Linked DNA regions of Homo sapiens: region 2 is linked to region 1. Evidence: promoter capture Hi-C in 16 types of primary human blood cells and fetal thymus (Javierre and others, 2016). All regions are on one chromosome and are shown on one strand. The core of a region is centred on a gene start or on the middle of the fragment in contact, and the rest is flanking DNA. Distances in the headings are between cores, read along the strand shown. Region 1 holds the start of VSIG4 (V-set and immunoglobulin domain containing 4). Region 2 has its middle 78 kb from the start of EDA2R.

Region 1 (6,151 bases), core at 1,216-3,715:
CACAGCACAGAGCAGGAGTTCTACAAATGGTAGTTTTAGTATCACTTTACCTGGGAAGCCTTCCCACGCTACTATTTCCTTCACTAAATACTGCCCAAACCACAAGTTTTACAGCTCAGTTAATAATTCACCTTGTATTAGTGGTTCATATGTGTTTGTCTTTCCTTTACACTAAAATCTCACTTATACAGGGACCATACCTAACATTTCTTTTCTCTCCCTCACAACATCCAGAAAAGACCTGGAACTATTGTAGAAGTGGTCATTAAAGGTGTGAATGAAGCAGAATAGTGTGTTACTTAACAGTATCATTTCTGGAGGCATATAGCTAGGAGTTTGAATCTTGTCTAGGCACCCTCTATAAAAGTAAGTGATTTCACCATTCTGGGTTTTAGACACATTTGTAAAATGGGGATATATTGAATTCATTCATTCAACAAATATGTGGGCTCTACAATGAAAAAGAAAAGTAGTGTAAGGGAGTATAGAGTGGTAGGGAGAGATACAAGAGTATGTGCAATAATACCCACCTGAGGGGTTGTAAGAACCAAGGGAAATAACCCATGCAAGGTGCTTAATTCAGTGACTGGAAGAGTAAAAGATTTTAAATAGCAACTATCATTATATAGTTGTTATTGTATGTATAGTATAGTTTGATTTTTATAAATCTGAAAAGATACAAGCATCAAGTATAATTATGTTCATGTTACAATTAGGGAAGCTGAGGTTCAGAGAGATTTGACTTGTTCAAGATCTCAGAATGAAGTAGACACAGAGCCAGGCTTATCTCCAGGTTTCTGACTTCTCATCCAATTCTTTTACTAATCAAGAGGGCTACTGAGCCTACTGCAAGACTGGAAGTCTTTCCCAGCCTTGAAGTAATGTTGTGCATACTCCCCAGGACATTTATTTATCTTCAGATCCAGGAGGTCCTAATAAAATGCAAGAGGTAGCACAAAACACACAATCACCTGGCCAGGCAGAAATTTACATCTGTCCAGTGGGCTTTTTAGCGGGGAAGGGGAGGGGTGTGTGTGTGTGTATGTGTGTGCGTGTGTGTGTGTGTGTGTGTGTGTGTGTCTGTGCGGTGGTGGTGGTGTAGTGGTGATAGGGTGTTGGTTGAAAAATATCAAAGGAGGGTTCTGTGAAGTTCAGGGTTTCCTGAGTGAGGACCCGGTGGGAAAAAATGGCTGAAATTTCCAGTGAGATGGAATGAGTGCAGTACTCAAAAAACAAGGAACAACCAGCCAAGGGGGATTGGGCCCTAGAGGCAGAGGTGATTGATAGAATTCCATGTAATAATGTGTCCTGAAATGCTGGAATGTCTCCTTAGCCCGTGCACAGCTCCAAATCATCTGCATGCAGCCACCCCTTGGCAAGTATGTTTCTTTATATTCCCACTCCCCATCTCTGCACAAACTCCTCCCTCCCCTGACCAAGTCCTTTCCTATCCCTCCAATCAAAGAGTAAACTAAGCTTAGCTGTTACTTACAGTGCAGTATGAATTTTTGGGATGTATTTGTGCTTTTGAAAGTGCTTATTGTTTCAAAGCTTAGTAGACAAAGCGCAGTGCCAAACCTAGTTAGACTGCTGATGAAATTACAGTCACTCTGGGGCCTGTGAAGAGGAGCAATTTCTGGAGCAGTTGAGCTTTGCTAGGAGGCATAATATTACTCTCTTGTAGGTCAAGGGCCTGTACCAATTGGAAGTCAATGAAAAATTCAACCTAATACAGCATACCACTAATGGGCTGCTGCACTGGAGGCTAGGCTTAAATTTCCCTTAAAAGAAGTAAAAAATAAATTCCTTATGAAAAAGCATGGAGAACATTAATGAAAATGAATTCTCCCTTACCATCAGAGAGGTGGAGCCATTGTAGAAAGTGATTCAAAGAGCTTCCCCAATATGAGATATGAGGCATATTCACCCATAACAGCCTTATCCATTGGCTTGTCAATTATTCAAGCTTTGATGTGTAGAAAGCCCTTTAATACACTAAACTCTTGTACTCTTAAGCCCAAAAGCACCCCGGGCCCAACACCCTGTCCAGTTGCATAGGCTGCACAGGCAAGGGTTAACAGTACAACTAATGAAAATTGGGTAGGTCAGCAAAGTTGATCTCTTCTCCCTGGGCTCACCACAAAGGAAAACACCGCCATACTGGAGTGGGAAGACTCATCCCAAAGGTCGCCCCCACAACCTCTGAATCTTGTGGAGGAGACTCAAAATAAATACAGCCTAGGAGATCAAAGACCAGAAAGCCCCATTGGCTCCAAGGAAAGTCAAGTCAATACCCTAGCAGGGGGAAGAATTGCTTCACTCATCCTGGAACCTCCAACCCCAAGGAGGTGGGGGAAGGGGGGCACCCCACATGACCTGTACTGAAATAGGGAAGGAAGGGGAATGTGTGATGGGACTAGGAGTTTGAGTGAGAGATATAGGGAAGGAAGGGAAGTAAGCAGTCACAGACGCTGGCGGCCACCAGAAGTTTGAGCCTCTTTGGTAGCAGGAGGCTGGAAGAAAGGACAGAAGTAGCTCTGGCTGTGATGGGGATCTTACTGGGCCTGCTACTCCTGGGGCACCTAACAGTGGACACTTATGGTAAGGCAGAAAGGGGGGCCTGGCTGCCATTGCTGGCTTAGGCAAAAGGCTAGAGGGTTGGTGTTTAATGTCTACTATGGAAAGCCTATTCCTACTGGGCAGGTGAGTCTTCTCAGCCAAACTCTGCAGGCTCTCTCAGCCTTGAGCAAAACGGATGGATGTAGTTGAAGGCTGCTGAAGAAGCCAGAAGGCAAGTTTGGGCAGAAATTGAAAAAGGATTTTTCTCTTGGAAAACATCTGCATTATTTTCTAGGGCTTGTATCTCAGGGGCATCAAGAAGGTTCCCAATGACATCCGAATCTTTCCTCCATCTGCTGTCTCTCATCTAAAATTCTACAATTGGACTTAACCACTCTGCTTCCAAGCTTTGGTCTCTGTTAAAATATACAGCCCCCGAAGAAGGAGTGTTTTCTAAGAGTTGGATAGGACTATAGAAGTAACCTATACCACCCTTCATTGTCATGAATAAGTGCTCAGAAACATCCAGTAGTGATTGAGATTTCACTGTTCACTACCTCCCCAGACCATCTAGTCCATCCAGGAGCAGCTCCAACTGTTAGAAAGTTCTTATTTGTGTTGAACTAAATCCAGTTCCCTCTGACTTCCATCCAAAAACCCCAGCTTTGCTTCTTGGGGCTACACAGAACATAGATGCTTCCTTGCCCTGTGATAGCCCTTCAAAGCCCTGAGGACAAGTACTATGTCTCCTTGACTCTTCTCTCCTCCAAGCTGAACAGCCCCAGCTTTTTCAACTGGTCTTCATAGGACTTGGTTTCTTACCCATTCCTGGGATAACTCACTTCCCTATAGACATGGCTCAATTTGTCTGGGCTATTTATGGGCTGGATACAAATCCCAAAGGAGGATGGACTATTCCATAGTGGCATTATTTCCTTGGAGCTTGGGAAGCTCTATCCTCATCTACACTCCTGAGAAGTGAGATGGATTTTCAGGAAACTCAACCTGGGTAACAGCTAAGTGAGATCCAATATAGGGTAAAGGGGGATTTTGCTGCTTCCCTATCATCCCTAGAGAAAAAGGCTGGATAGGTGTTAGCTTGGTGTCACTTGTTAGGTCAGAAAGAATCCAGCTTTCCGTAGCTGACTCTGATTAGGTTACCCTATCCTGGGGCTCTGTGACCCATCACACTCTGGAACCTCAGAGTTAGAAAAGACTCTGAATTAAGTCAACCAAGAGAAAAAATAATTTGCCCCCAAGCCAAAGAGCATTAGTGGCAGAGTTAATGCTCCTGAAAAAACATTTTTCTTTCTATAACTACCACATTTCCATTCTCTAGCAGGTTTTATAATGTATCTCTCTACCTTCTCCAAGTCTGTTGGTTTGAGCTAGGGCTTAAGCCTGGGGCTTGAGGGAGCATTTTAGAAATGTTAAATTTAAATCCTTTGTTTGTGTGTGTGTATGTGTGTGTGCATTCATGTGTGTGTGTGTGTGTGTGTGTGTGAGAGAGAGAGAGAGCACTCATGTGTCTTGTTCCTTCCCCAGCCTATGAGCTTTTCCAGACCTGGAAGCAGGCCTTCCATTTGTACACAGGATCTTATACTATAGACCTCAGGCTCAGGTTATGCTGAGCTGCAAATAATACCTTCCCTCTCCCTGGACCTCATTGTTCCTAGCCCATCTGTACAGTGAGGAGGTTGACTTGACTGGTCTTAAAGGGGTTTCTCAGCTGGACAACTCTGTGGGACTGCAGCTTCACTGCTAAAAACCCTGTAGCGGCCAGAGTAAGCTGCTAGCCTCTTCCTGTGGGGCTAAGAGATATGTCAAGATAATCAAAATTTAAAAAATTTCTAATATTCACATTTTATATACATTTTAAACATTTCAGAAACATTTTATAAACATCTATTATATAAGTTAATCCTCCATCCAGGAGGCATTCCAGGAAAGGGAGAGAAGCCAGTCATGTGGGGGAATGGGATAGAGATATGGAAAATGTCAACCTCTTTGTGATGATGGGAGGAAGGGGATTCAGAAAGAGACCTAGAATGGGTCTTATAAAGGAGCACACACCTAGTAAATTCAACCTTTCTTTTCTTCAGTGCCATTACACAGGCATCAGACATTTGCTTTTATAAGGCTGGGTCTCAGGACCACATTAAGCTCAATACTGTATATATACTTATCAGCAATAAGTATATATACTTATCAGCAATAAGTATATATACGTATCAGTAATAAGTTTATATACTTAGTAATAAGTATATATACTTATCAGTAATAAGTATAATATAATATAATGTTATATATTATATATAAGTAATTATCAGTAATAATTATATAATTATTATATATTATATATAAGTAATTATCAGTAAAGTGGAAGTAATAATAAAGGAAGTAATATAATATAATAAGTATATAAATATATAATATAATATAATATATTATGAATATATTATATTATATTATTATTATATAATATATATTATATATTGTATTATATAATTATTATATATATTATATTATTATATAATTATATTATATATTATATTATTATATGATATATATTATATATTAATATTATTACATAATATATATTATATATTATATTATATTATTATATAATATATATTATATATTATATTATATTATTATATAATATATATTATATATTATATTATTATATAATATATATTATATATTATATTATATTATTATATAATATATATTATATATTATATTATATTATTATATAATATATATTATATATTATATTATATTATTATATATTATATATTATATATTATATTATATTATTATATAATATATATTATATATTATATTATATTATTATATAATATTTTATATTATATTATATTATTATATAATATATATTATATGATATATTATATTATTATATAATATATATTATATGATATATTATATTACATTATATATTATATTATATGATATATTATATGATATATTATATTATATGATATATTATATTATATATTATATAATATAATATAATATATCATATAATATATCATATAATATAATATATCATATAATATATTATATAATAAAATATATAATATAATATATAATATAATATATTATTATATATATAATATATTATATAACATATTATATATATAATAATATATAATATTATATAATATATTATATTATATATAATATAATATAATATATATTATATTATATTATATATTATTAATATATTATAATTATATAATATATATATTATATAATTATAATATATTAATAATATATCGTATTATATATATTATATTATATTATATATTATATTATTAAAATATTATCTATATTATAAATATATTATATTATATTTTTATTATATTATAATATTACTTCCTTTATTATTACTTCCACTTTACTGATAGTGACTCAAAGTTCAGATAGGTTTAGTAATTTACCCAAGGTCACACAGAGAGATATGTGGTAAGGCAGACCTTGCGCTTAGATCAGTGTTATTCCTACTACATCATACAGTCCTTCATTACCCTCCTGCTCTCATTAGGGGCTCCTACTTGATTCTAGGGGA
Region 2 (6,151 bases), core at 1,533-4,032, 680 kb before region 1:
TGCTATTGAGTAGTTGCTATCCTTTGGAGGAGAAGAGGTGTTCTGATTTTTGAAATTTTCAGCCTTTTTGTGCTGGTTTTTCCTTATCTTCGTGGATTTATCTACCTTTGGTCTTTGATGCTGATGACCTTCGGATGGGGTTTCTGTGTGGACATCCTTTTCATTGATGTTGATGCTATCTTTTCCATTTGTTCGTTTTCGTTCTAAACAGTCAGGCCCCTCTGCTGCAGGTCTGCTGGAGTTTGCTGGACGTCCACTCCAGAACCTGTTTGCCTGGGTATCACCAGTGGAGGCTGCAGAACAGCAAAGATTGCTGCCTATCCCTTCCTCTGGAGGCTTTGTCCCAGAAGGGCACCCACCAAATGCCGTCTGGAGCTCTCCTGTATGAAGTGTCTGTCGACTCCTGCTGGGAGGTGTCTCCCAGTCAGGTGTCACAGGGGTCAGGGACCCACTTGAGGAGGCAGTCTGTCCCTTAGCAGAGCTTGAGCACTGTGCTTTGAGATCCACTGCTCTCTCCAGAGCTGGCAGGCAGAAACGTTTAAGTTTGCTGAAGGTGCACTCACAGCCACCCCTTTTCACAGGTGCTCTGTCCCAGGGAGATGGGAGTTTCATCTATAAGCCCCTGACAGGGGCTGCTGCCTACCTTTCAGAGATGCCCTGCCCAGAGAAGAGGAATATAGAGTGGCAGTCTGGCTACAGAGGCTTTGCTGAGCTGTGGTGGGCTCCGCCCAGTTTGAATTTCCTGGAAGCTTTTTTACACTGTGAGGGGGAAATCACCTACTCAACCCTCAGTAATGGTGGACGCCCCCTCCCCCCACCAAGCTCAAGCATCTCAGGTCAACTTTAGACTTCAGACTGCTGTGCTGGCAGCAAGAATTTCAAGCCAGTGTATCTTAGCTGTCTGGGCTTCGTGGGGGTGGGTTCCACTGAGCTAGACCACTTGGCTCCCTGGCTTCAGACCCTTTACTAGGGGAGTGAACAGTTCTGTCTTGCTGTTGTTCCAGGCGCCACTGGGGTATGAAAAAAACTCCTGCCACTAGCTCAGGGTCTGCCCAAATGGCTGCTCAGTTTTGTGGTTGAAACCCAGGTCCCTGGTGGTGTAGGCACCTGAGGGAATCTTGTGGTCTGTGGATTGTGAAGAGCATGGGAAACGCATAGTATTTGGGCCAGAATGCACCGTTCCTCATGGCACAGGCCTTCACGAATTCCCTTGGCTAGGGGAGGGAGTTCCCCGACCTCTTGCACTTCCCAGGTGAGGCATCACCTTACCCTGTTTCTACTCACCCTCTGTGGGCTGCACCCACCTTCTAACCAGTTCCAATGTTATGAGCTGGGTACTTCAGGTGGAAATGCGGAAATCACTCGCCTTCTGCGCTGATCTTTCTGGGAACTGCAGATTGGAGCTCTTCCTATTCGGCCATCTTGCCAGCCACCCCTCTTCTCCTTCTTATATTACACTTATTTCCTGACTAATTTAATCCCCTTATTTAGCTTAAACCAAGACCTGAAGCTGACGGTTACTAAATTTATGTCCACAGCCCAGGCTGCTTCTCCAACACCAGACCTATATATCAAAATACCTATCATATGTTTCACAGGCACATCAAAACTTCTTCTGAAACTGAATTCATCATTTCCCCCTTTCCTCAGATATAAACTTAGTCACCAAATTAGTCACCAAAGCCAAAAACGTGACTGTAATTCTTGATTCCTGCTTATCCCTTAACTCTTACATCCCATCAATCCTCAATTTATCTATTGATTTGACAAATTCTACCTGATATGCTATTTTGTTCCCAGCATTATGCTAGGTGCAGTCCCTACCACAGTAACTACTTTCATGAAGCTTTCATCCTAGTAGCAAGCCCAGTATTAAGCTTTGATTTATACACTAAATTAATTACATTTTTAGTTGTAAATGATTTTTTAACTACTAGATTTATGTTTTTAGAGGAGCTGTAGGTTTGTCAAAACACTGAGCAAAAAGAACAGAGTTTCCATATACTCATTGTCTTGCCCCACACTCTCAGGTTTCCCTATTATTAACATCTTGCCTGATTGAGGTATATTTGTTACAATTGATGAATCAACATTGATACATCATTTAAACTTAAGCCCATAGTTAACATTATGGCTCATTCTTTGTATTGTGCAGTTCTACCAGGCTTGCCAAGTACATAAAGCCATGTATCTACTATTACAATAATAGTATAGCACAGTTTCACTGCTCTAAAAATCCCGTGTTTCACCTATTTAATCCTCCTACTATCCATGACGACCACTGATTTTCAGTCAGTATAGTTTTGTCTTATCGAGAATGTCACATAGTTGGAATCATATAGCATGTAGCATTTTCAGACCAGGTTCTTTCACTTACCGATATGCATTTAAGATTTCTCCTTGCCTTCTTGAGGCTTAATAGTTCATTTCTTTTCATTGTTGAATAATATTATCTTGTATGGATTTATCAGTTTGTTTACCCATTCACTTATTGAAAGGATATCTTGGTTGCTTCCAACTTTTGTCGATTATGAATAAATTTATAACAAATATTCATATGCAGATTTTGTGTAGACATAAATCTTTAATTCATTTCAGTAAATATCTAGTAGTATGATTGCTGGATCATACAATAAGACTATGTTTAGTTTTGTAAGAAACTGCCAAACTGTCTTCCACAGTGGCTGTGTCATTTTGCATTCCCACCAGGAATGAATGAAGGCTTCTGTTGCTCTACATTCTCAATAGCATTTGGCATTGTCAGTATTGTGCCATTCTAATAGATGTGCAGTAGAATTTCATTGTTGCTTTAATTTGTAATTCTCTAATGTTAATTAGATATTAACAATTTTAAATTCTAGAAATTAGAAGACTATTGCACTATAAGAACATGTAGCATAGAACATTACTTAGTCTGGAATCATGGAAGATTTCTCTGAAAAGGTGATGTTTGAGTTGAATGTTGTGGAGTAAATAGGAATTAATTAAATAATTAGAAGAGAGTCCTGGCGGAGGAGAGAGCATGTACAGAAGGACCTGAGGTAGCGAGAAAGGTAACATATTTGAGGTTCAAAAAAGGCCTGTGTGTGGTCAACACTTATGGAGCATAGGACAAGGTGACATGAGGAAAGGCAGGGACTATGTAGGCCACAGGAATAATTTGAACTCCTTTCTAAGACTAGTGTGAAGCTACTGAAGGTTTTTCATGAGGGGCGTGACTTGATCAAATTTGAGCTTTGGAAAGATCACTCAATTTGCTGCATATCAGAGAATTGGGGAAACCTCAAGTAAGGAGGCTTTTGAGATAAATCAAGAAAGGAAAGTTGTAGCTTTAATTTGGTTCATAGCAATGAAGATCAGAGAAATGGATATATACAGGGATTATTTAGGAAGTACAAGCAATAGGACATAGAGATTGATTATAAATGAAAGGTAGGAAGTGGTGAGGTAGAGCATAGAGGACATGAGAGGTTTCTGATTTCTAGTTTGAGCAACTAAATGAATGGTGGTGACCATCTTTAAGTTTGAAATACTATAAGGAAGAGCAAGTTTGGGGTACAGTGAGATGATTAGTGGAGTATGAAATACTATAGTTCAATTGGAGGAATGTATTTTTTGCTTTCTTAGAGGTACATAGAATAATGGTGCTTTTTGAAATAGATGGTATATTAATTTTAGTTAAGCTTGCTTGTTGCAACCAGGAACATAGATGAGATTACCAAGGGAGATAATATAGTTTCAGAAGAGAAGGGAGCCAAGGCCTGAGCCTTGAGGATTTCTAACATTAAAACATGCAGTAGAAGTAGGAGGATATGAACTGGCAATGGAGACTGAGAAAGAGCAGACAGAAATATGGGAGGAAATTTAGGCATACCCAGTGTCCCAAAAGCCAAGTAAAGAGAGTACTCTAGAAAGAGCTGAAGTACGTCCCATCAATACCTAATTTATTGAGAGTTTTTAGCATGAAGGGTTGTTGAATTTTGTCAAAGGATTTTTCTGCATATATTGAGATAATCATGTGGTTTTTTCAAAATAATAAGAGCTATCTATGACAAACCCACAGCCAATATCATACTGAATGGGCAAAAACTGGAAGCATTCCCTCTGAAAACTGGCACAAGACAGGGATGCCCTCTCTCACGACTCCTATTCAACATAGTGTTGGAAGTTCTGGCCAGGGCAATTAGGCAGGAGAAGGAAATAAAGGGTATTCAATTAGGAAAAGAGGAAGTCAAATTGTCCCTGTTTGCAGATGACATGATTGTATATCTAGAAAACCACATTGTCTCAGCCCAAAATCTCCTTAAGCTGATAAGCAACTTCAGCAAAGTCTCAGGATACAAAATCAATGTACAAAAATCACAAGCATTCTTATACACCAACAACAGACAAACAGAGAGCCAAATCATGAGTGAACTCCCATTCACAATTGCTTCAAAGAGAATAAAATACCTGGGAATCCAACTTACAAGGGATGTGAAGGACCTCTTCAAGGAGAACTACAAACCACTGCTCAAGGAAATAAAAGAGGATACAAACAAATGGACGAACACTCCATGCTCATGGCTAGGAAGAATAAATATCGTGAAAATGGCCATACTGCCCAAGGTAATTTACAGATTCAATGCCATCCCCATCAAGCTACCAATGACTTTCTTCACAGAATTGGAAAAAACTACTTTAAAGTTCATATGGAACCAAAAAAGAGCCCGCATCACCAAGTCAATCCTAAGCCAAAAGAACAAAGCTGGAGGCATCACACTACCTGACTTCAAACTATACTACAAGGCTACAGTAACCAAAACAGCATGGTACTGGTACCAAAACAGAGATATAGATCAATGGAACAGAACAGAGTCCTCAGAAATAACGCCACATATCTACAACCAACTGATCTTTGACAAAGCTGACAAAAACAAGCAATGGGGAAAGGATTCCCTGTTTAATAAATGGTGCTGGGAAAACTGGCTAGCCATATGTAGAAAGCTGAAACTGGATCCCTTCCTTACACCTTATACAAAAATCAATTCAAGATGGATTAAAGACTTAAATGTTAGACCTAAAACCATAAAACCCTAGAAGAAAACCTAGGCATTACCATTCAGGACGTAGGCATGGGCAAGGACTTCATGTCTAAAACACCAAAAGCAATGGCAACAAAAGACAAAATTGATAAATGGGATCTAATTAAACTAAAGAGCTGCACAGCAAAAGAAACTACCATCAGAGTGAACAGGAAACCTACAGAATGGGAGAAAATTTTCGCAACCTACTCATCTGACAAAGGGCTAATATCCAGAATCTACAATGAACTCAAACAAATTTACAAGAAAAAAACAAACAACCCCATCAAAAAGTGGGCGAAGGACATGAACAGACACTTCTCAAAAGAAGACATTTATGCAGCCAAAAAACACATGAAAAAATGCTCATCATCACTGGCCATCAGAGAAATTCAAATCAAAACCACAATGAGATACCATCTCACACCAGTTAGAATGGTGATCATTAAAAAGTCAGGAAACAACAGGTGCTGGAGAGGATGTGGAGAAATAGGAACACTTTTACACTGTTGGTGGGACTGTAAACTAGTTCAACCATTGTGGAAGTCAGTGTGGCGATTCCTCAGGGATCTAGAACTGGAAATACCATTTGACCCAGCCATCCCATTACTGGGTATATACCCAAAGGACTACAAATCATGCTGCTATAAAGACACATGCACACATATGTTTATTGCAGCATTATTCACAATAGCAAAGACTTGGAACCAACCCAAATGTCCAACAATGATAGACTGGATTAAGAAAATGTGGCACATATACACCATGGAATACTATGCAGCCATAAAAAATGATGAGTTCATGTCCTTTGTAGGGACATGGATGAAATTGGAAATCATCATTCTCAGTAAACTATCGCAAGAAGAAAAAACCAAACACCGCATATTCTCACTCATAGGTGGGAATTGAACAATGAGATCACATGGACACAGGAAGGGGAATATCACACTCTGGGGACTGTTGTGGGGTGGGGAGAGGGCGGAGGGATAGCACTGGGAGATATACCTAATGCTAGATGATGAGTTAGTGGGTGCAGTGCACCAGCATGGCACATGTATACATATGTAACTAACCTGCACAATGTGCAC

The links. Contacts are between HindIII fragments. The CHiCAGO score rates a contact against its expected background, and 5 or more counts as called.
Region 2: a fragment that was not itself captured here is called in contact with the fragment with the promoter of VSIG4 in region 1 in 5 of 17 cell types (endothelial precursors, total CD4 T cells, M2 macrophages and 2 more); the score reaches 7.6 in endothelial precursors.

What each region holds. Positions count from the first base shown.
Region 1 is chrX:66,036,394-66,042,544 of GRCh38, reverse strand. VSIG4 (V-set and immunoglobulin domain containing 4) reads left to right here and starts at 2,465. Exons shown (of 8, transcript NM_007268.3): 1 at 2,465-2,601. The coding sequence starts at 2,547. The HindIII fragment of the contact is 1,000 bases long and covers 1,969-2,968 here.
Region 2 is chrX:66,713,584-66,719,734 of GRCh38, reverse strand. No RefSeq gene overlaps it. Among named protein-coding and RNA genes, the nearest start is that of EDA2R, 78 kb to the right of the region's middle. RefSeq lists an enhancer at 797-1,996. The HindIII fragment of the contact is 1,806 bases long and covers 1,880-3,685 here.